2 separate regions of the Homo sapiens genome follow, and region 1 is linked to region 2. Evidence: promoter capture Hi-C in human tissues and cell types (Jung and others, 2019). All regions are on one chromosome and are shown on one strand. Each heading gives the region's core, a stretch centred on a gene start or on the middle of the fragment in contact. The rest is flanking DNA. Distances are from core to core; before and after follow the strand shown.

Region 1 (4,161 bases), core at 181-2,680, 580 kb before region 2:
AAGCTTTTTCCACACTCCATTTGCCTTCTCTCCATGTTCCACCTTTAAACAGAACCATCTTTCAAATCTGATTAATTTTTCAAACCTTGTAGACAGCTAATACCACCTTGTATCACATTCCCATTCTCCTTCATTACTGCTCAAGATGTAAGCCCCTCTGGTTATTAGTCTCAACCCTATATTTCGCCACGCATCCTTTCCTTGACCCCACATCTCAGACTCCCTTGCCTACAAAACCTTCTCACGGTACCCTTCTGTTCCAACATCAACATCTTGCTAAATGCCCCCTCAACCTCTTTGAATAAATGGTCACACTTGACTTTTCTCTCTCAATCCTCCCTGTTCATCATCACCACATCCAGTTAATCACCAAAATCCTGTTGATATCATCTTGTCAAGGAAAACTGTGAAGGCCCGGCGCAGTGGCTCACGCCTGTAATCCCAGCACTTTGGGAGGCCGAGGCCGGCGGATCATGAGGTCAGGAGATCGAGACCACCGTGAAACCCGGTCTCTACTAAAAATACAAAAAAAAAAAAAAAATTAGCCGGGCGTAGCGGCTGTCGCCTGTAGTGCCAGCTACTCGGGAGGCTGAGGCAGGAGAATGGCGTGAACCCGGGAGGTGGAGCTTGCAGTGAGCCGAGATCGCGCCACTGTACTCCAGCCTGGGTGACAGAGCGAGACTCCGTCTCAAAAAAAAAAAAAAAAAAAAGGAAAACTGTGAAAGACTTTGAAATGGGAAAAAAAGGTTGCTGGGTGTCCATGCCCAGGGCACCGTTCTCACTTTTGTGAGCCTTTCCTTGTTTTTAAGATATCTATAACTCTATAAGTTGTAGCAAATAGATAATAACGCAACCGATTCTTGTCCATAGAAATGCAAATGAAGGCCGGGTGTGGTGGCTCATGCCTGTAATCCCAGCACTTTGGGAGGCCGAGGTGGGCTGATCATGAGGTCAGGAGTTTGGGACCAGCCTGGCCAATATGGTAAAACCCCGTCTCTACTGAAAATACAAAAATTAGCCAGTCATGGTGGCAGGCACCTGTAGTCCCAGTTACTCAGGAGGCTGAGGCAGGAGAATCGCTTGAACCCAGGAGGCAGCAGTTGCAGTGAGCTGAGATCACGCCACTGCACTCCAGTCTGGGCAACAGAGCAAGACTCTGTCTCAAAAAAAAAAAAAAAAAAGAAATACAAATGAATTGTGTCTGGTGGACCACAATTGATTATTGCCTGGTGGATATTGACTGGTTTTGTCCCTAATTGTACATTCATTTTAGCATTTTGGCATTCTTGATTGCCTACATATATGTGTGTTCTTTGAATTTTTCTTATAACATTGTACTGGTTCCCTCATTAATTAATGAGTTAAATAAAATTTTGACACATTCATTTTATGTGTGTACAAATTATCATTTTACTCTTTAAAAATGTATCCTTTAATATTCTGAGTATCTCTTAAATTTGCATTATTCCCTCCACCTGAATAACCCCTTCTAGCACAGGTCATTATCAACCTTTACCTAGATTATTTTAAAGCCCACTAATTGTACCCTTGTCTGTGGTCTCTCTATCCTATTCCACACTCTCCATTAACCAGAGCACTTTCCCAGCATGTAAGTCTGAACATACTGCTCAATTTCATAAAATCTCCTGCTCCCAGAACAAAGTGCAGCCCTCTAGGCCTATTTTGCTTCTCCAGCCTCATGTGTGACATTGACCTGCAGTTCTCAGTCAGATTCATTTCAGTTCTCTGAATTCACTCCCTTCTCTGTCACCTCTAGAATAAAGCACTTGCAATTGCTTTGCATGCAACACACTCCACATGCCTCTCTTCTCCCAATTCTTGCCTGTTCTTTAGGGCTCATTTCTGTTACCACTTCCTTCAGGAAGCCTCTCTCTAGTCTGGGTTAGATGCTCCACTTATGTCCTCCTGTGTGCCCTCAGCCCTTTACCTCCTCCCCTAATAGCACATATCACGCTGTATTATAATTGCTCTTTAATGATCTCCTCTGCTAGTCTTTAAGCTCTGTGCTGGCAGGTGCCATGTTCAGGTTTGAATCCTGAAATCCTTACTTAAGCAGCTGTATAATCTGGGGTAAATCCTTGAACTCATTAGGCCATAATCCAATATATAATGTCTTTCATAAATTTTATCTTATATCCAACTTGTTCAAACCTGCTATTGTTTACCACTACATCCCCAGGGCATAGCACAGCATGTAAAAGTCATTCAAAAACATGGTCCCAGGACAATAACAGAAACCTCCCTATAAAAATCCTTTTCAAGGACCATGACCCACCCTACCTACTCCAGCACCCCCCAACCCCCTGCAAAAAGCACAAATTATACTCAAATAGAAAGTACTTCAGTTTGTTTAGATTTTTATTTTATAAAGTCAGAGTAAAATATTCAACCCACCTGCTTTTTAATTGTGAATGGTTCCATATAATGGCCATCCTAGGAGGGATGAAAAAGGGTTTTGTTTTACTTTCTCTAATTTATAAAGAAAAAAAGGTTTATTTGATTAATGATTCTCGTGGCTGGGAAGTTCAAGATTGTGCATCTGCATCTGATGAGGGCCTCAGGCTGCTTCCACTCACGGTGGAAGGTAAAGGGGAGCTGGCATGTGCAGAGATCACATGGAGAGAGAGGAAGCAAGAGGGAGGGTGGAGGTGCCAGGCTCATTTTAACAACCAGCTCTCACAGGAACTAATAGATGAGAACTCACCTCTGAGGGAGGGCATTAATCTATTCATGAGGGATCTGCTCCCATGACCCAAACACCTCCAATTAGGCTTCAATATTGGGAATCACATTTCAGCATGATGTTTGGAGGGGACAAATATCCACACCAGCAGTCAGTGTTCTGCAATTTCACAGTGATGCGCATAAAGTGGGAGTTCATTTATCATTGTATGGGGCACTCAGTGACCTCTCAATCTGGAAGCTCAGTTAATATCCTTGGACTCCAAGAAATTACTATTTTCTTAGATAATTTCAATACCTCCATCTATTTCTCATTCTATAATTCCCCTGGCTTGATCTTCTAATTATTTTTCTCTCTCTTATTTTACTTGCTTTATTTTTCCCCTTCTAATTCTGGGAGAGTTCTCCAACTTTTTCTACTGACATTTTATTTCTGCTATAATAAATTTTTGAGAGCAGCTGCTTATCTTTTGAATGCTTGCTCTCTTTCTCCTGTCTCTTCTTCTCCTCTTTTTGGGCTGATATAGTGTTTGGAATGCAAAACCTTTTCTAATCTCAGAGGATATTAATTTGGAGTCTTACTCTGTCACCCAGGCTGGAGCGCAGTGGCGAGATCTTGGCTCACTGCAACCTCTGTCTCCTGGGTTCAAATGCTTCTCCTGCCTCAGCCTCCCAAGTAGCTGGGATTATAGGCACCTGCCACCACACCCGGCTAATTTTTGTATTTTTAGTCGAGAAGGGGTTTTACCATGTTGGTAAGACTGATCTTGAACTCTGACCTCAAGTGATCTGCCCACCTCCACCTCCCAAAGTGCTGGGATTACAGGATTGAGCCACCGTGCCTGGCCCTAGAGGATATTAATTCTTTTTAATTTTTTTCTTCAGTTCTCTGGACTGTTTCTGTTTCCATCAGTTTGTTTATTTTGGTTTTGCCTTTCATGTTGGAGGCTTACCTCAAACATCTGGTGAACTTTGGCTGTGTGTTCATATTTACTAGTAGACAATTTACTATGAAACTCTGTGTGCAAAGACAGAGCTCACTGAATAACCCCTGACCTTCCTATAGGGTTATCAGTGGTGTATTAGCTGGAGTCCCACAAGAAACAGGTGCCACACTCCTTCAGAGAAGCTGAGAAAAATTTAATAACGGTGGACAAGGAAGAGACCAATAAGGAATAAGTAAGCAACAAGAGGAAGGAGAAAAGGGCAAGAGAGATGACCAGAGCTTGGGGACAGTAGCGATGTTAAGGGGATCATCTCTCTTGCCCTTGGGTCTCTCATTGCCCAGAACCAACTTGAGGGCACGAGAGCCCATTGATGGAATCCATAAGGATCAGCTGTTGAGTGCACTAAGTAGAAGAGAGAAAGTGAATATGGAGCTGGAAACACAAAAAAGTATCCAGGACAGGTATCCAGCCAATTTGATGGAGCAACACAAATGTTAGCAACCCAGCATAG
Region 2 (3,635 bases), core at 885-3,384:
ATGGAATCATTACTGAGCTCCAAGACTAAGCTCTCCTTTCAGTGGGAGACCTTCTATATCTCAGAGCCAGAGAATGTTGCACCTAGCTGTGCTCAATTTCTTTTTGTAGAATAACCATGAAATCCATGCTATTGTCAGCCTAGAGGTTTTGACCTTTGGGCAAAATATTTTGTAGAGAAGGCTAAAGAAATGTGCAGAAAGTTTTCCTAGAAATTATTACAAAATTCCTATCATTATCAGGTTTATTTTTGGAAAAATGGCCTACTAATCCAATGCAGCAGAGAGAAAAATATCTTGAGTATCCCAGAAGTAATGAAAACATACTTAGTAAAATCTATTCCTTTTGCCAAGCCCATAACTCCTCTGATTAAACTGCTATCAAGATAGTGGGAAAGGAAGAAGCAATGAGAAAAAGTAAGAAATAATTTACTATCTCCTTTACCCTAGCAAGCAAAAGTTATTTAACTAAATGAACGACTCATCTATAAATAAAAAAGAGTACACTATTACTACTCTGCAAATCTTTAAAAGCAGATGTTTTCATCTAAGATGGTTGTAGAACAGCTTTACCTCAAGATACATGGATATCCCTCCTCTAAGGACCAAAAATTCTTTTTTAGTGGGATTTGCATGGTATATTTTCAAGAACCTCAGAGCACTGAAGACACTAATTTTTCTCCCCAAACCTCCTGAATGACAAGCATGATTATTAGTTCTATTTTCCAATGAAAAAAAAATCAAGCACTAATAAATTACAGAACAAGTTAACAGGTACCTTCTGACCTGATGCAACAGGAAGTACACAACATTGCCTATGTAGCTTTCTTGCCAAATATATTTATTCTGAATCTAAACATGAGGAAACAATTAGACAAATCTAGATTGCAAGACTTTCTAAAAGACATCTAACCTAGGCTTTGAAAAATGTCTCAAGAACAACAACAAAAAGGGTAGAGGGACATTTTTAGAGAGGCTAAAAAAAACTAAAGAGAATAAAGAGACATGACAACCAATTACAATACATGTTTTTCACTGGATCCTGTATTAGGGGAAAAGTCCACCATGAAGCACTTTTCTGGGGACAATCAGGGGAGATTTGAATATGGTCTCAATATTAGCTATTATATTTATGATAACTCTTGGGGACATGCTAGTGATACAGTGTTTATACAGGGAAATGCCCTTGTTTTTAGGAGATACATGCCTAAATACTTAAGGCAAAAGTATAATAAAATCTGCTACTAATTTTCAAATGGTTTAATAAAGAGAGATGGAAATAGGAGAGACCAAATATGGCAAAATGTCAACAACTGGAGAATATAAGTGAAAGATATACAAATATTCATTCAACATTTCTTTGCCATTCTTTGAGGATTCAATGGGTTTGAAAATTTTCAAATAGCTGGGGGTAAAAATCAGGCAGCAGTTTTGTCTCATCAGTGGAAGCGCAAAAAAGAAAATGAAAGCATATTCCCTCATTCCCAAAGCCCTACCTGAAAGAATAATTTCCAATCCAGTAATTGTGAGTTAAATATTTTAGAGGCAATTTTCTGACTGTAAGGGAGCACTTTATTTGAGGAACGAGTAAAAATAATTGCTTGAATGGAAGAGAGATGTAGGACTTTATTCACCTGATTGGCCCATCCACTTTGGCCTTTTAGAACACAAATGGTTGAGGCTAAATTTCAGAAAACAAAATTTTAATTGATTATTAAAAGTTTTCTGCTCAATATAATCCCCATTAGCATGCCTTATTCCTATGGAGAATATCAGTTGCATAGAATATTAGTTGCTAGAAGGCAGAAATAATAATGATATTTATAAATTACCTGTATAGTATTTAACATAGCACCATACATAAAGATAAACCCTTAATAAAGTGTTCGGTAATTCTGTTAAGGGTGGAAAATATAATAAGCATTTCTTAATCTTCTCTCTCAATCCCAGTTCTCTAACCACTATCATACTCACCTCTAGGCAAAGAAGCAAAAGCTTTTCTGTGTGTTGAATGCATCATTAGGTGAAAAGCGGGTAGGCTAAAAATCAATATGACTACTTACCTTGGTTCCAGTTTTAGACATTTTTGGTGCATAGACTGGTTTTCCCAGTGCTGAAAGAAATTCAGGAATGGCTACAGAGAGTTAGAGGCACAGTGACATTTATATGGGCTGGTTTCAGTCAAACATTTGCTTAGTCATGAGAATAGGATCCAAAAATTGAGTCAGTCATTTAGACGCTATTGATGGTTTCTAGAAAAAACAACTGGGATTATAAAATAAAGGAAAGCTTCAGTACCGCCTTTAATGCTTACCAAGCAGGGCTGCATTACAGACTTTGCTGAGTCAAGAAACCAAAACCCAGACAAAGTTGTAAAAATTAAGAACAAAAGAGTCTCTCTTTTTTTTTTTAAGCAGCCTCTTTGAAATTCCTAATGTCCTTTTTCTTCAACAAAGCTTGTGAGAGGTAAGAGTCAGAAGACTACCTCTATTTCTGGACAGAAGTGACATGTTCTAAACGCAACAAAACTTACATGACAACTAAATGCAATGCATGATCTTGTGTTTGGGGAAAAAAGTCACTATAAAGACACTGCTGGGACAATCAGAAAACATTTTAATATGGACTGTAAATTAGATAATACTATTGTACCAAAGTTTAACTTCTTGAATTTGATCATTGTACTATGACTAGGTAAGAGTATGTCTGTTTCCAGGACATGTATGCTACCATTTAGAAGAAAGGTTCAAGATGTCTGCAACCTATTCTCAAATTGTTGAGCAAAAATAAAACAATACTATCATGTTGAGTGGTAAAGAGAATGTAGCAAAATGTTAACAACTGGTGAATGGAATCTAGATAAAGGGTATGTTAAAGTTCACTGACTTATTCTTGCAACTATTATTTAATTTTTTTCAAAACACAATTTTTTTTAAAAAAAGAGCTCTAATCCATAAGAAGGGTGCCACCGTATGTAGAAAAGTGACTGTGGGACTCCTGAATTTGCCAAGGGTTAGCTAACTAAACACAACAAGCTACTGGCTAGGTGGTCTTCTTTGCCCACAATACAACATTGGAACATGATCGGAGAACATTTTTTGGCCCTAATACACCTCTGACTTTAGGAATGAGATTGCATCTTATGTAAATACAAAAAAACCCAATAAATTAACTTTTCTCCATTTTTAACTTTAACTGATCAAGTATATTCTCAAAATCAAGTATATTCTCAAAAGTCAAACTTCCTCATCTTTCTGTTAACAAAACTAACAAATATTTTAATAAATGGGATGTATTATGGTCAATTCAGAAAATGGCAAATGTGCCTTAATATAAAGATTATTGAGAAAATATTAAGCTATATGCTTGGTTTTCTGAATTTTATAAAATTTTATAAAACTTTAAAACTTTAAAAAAAGTATCTGAGTACCATTTATTTCATTAACAAATAGCAATATCTAAAATATATTTCTATTACTCCAGTGTTTATTTGGTAATGGTCTGCTCCTTGAATTTCATCTTAAAATAAAAACCATGTAAACTTCAATTAGAATTAAACATTCTGAGGGTTAATTTTTACTTTAGAAATACAAAAGAGTTTTTTGATAGAAATACTAATTAAATGGCCAGAGAGCATA

What was found. The method cuts DNA at HindIII sites, captures the fragments that hold promoters and counts their contacts. A contact is called where the count stands out against the background at its distance.
Region 1: a fragment that was not itself captured here is called in contact with the fragment with the promoter of CRYGS in region 2 in 1 of the 25 tissues and cell types used here (aorta).

What each region holds. Positions count from the first base shown.
Region 1 is chr3:185,963,117-185,967,277 of GRCh38, forward strand. It overlaps the pseudogene NMRAL2P. Among named protein-coding and RNA genes, the nearest start is that of TRA2B, 27 kb to the left of the region's middle. RefSeq lists an enhancer at 3,544-3,838. The HindIII fragment of the contact is 7,383 bases long and covers 1-4,161 here.
Region 2 is chr3:186,542,246-186,545,880 of GRCh38, forward strand. It overlaps CRYGS (crystallin gamma S), which reads right to left and starts at 2,135. Exons shown (of 3, transcript NM_017541.4): 1 at 2,061-2,135. The coding sequence starts at 2,081. The HindIII fragment of the contact is 9,271 bases long and covers 704-3,635 here.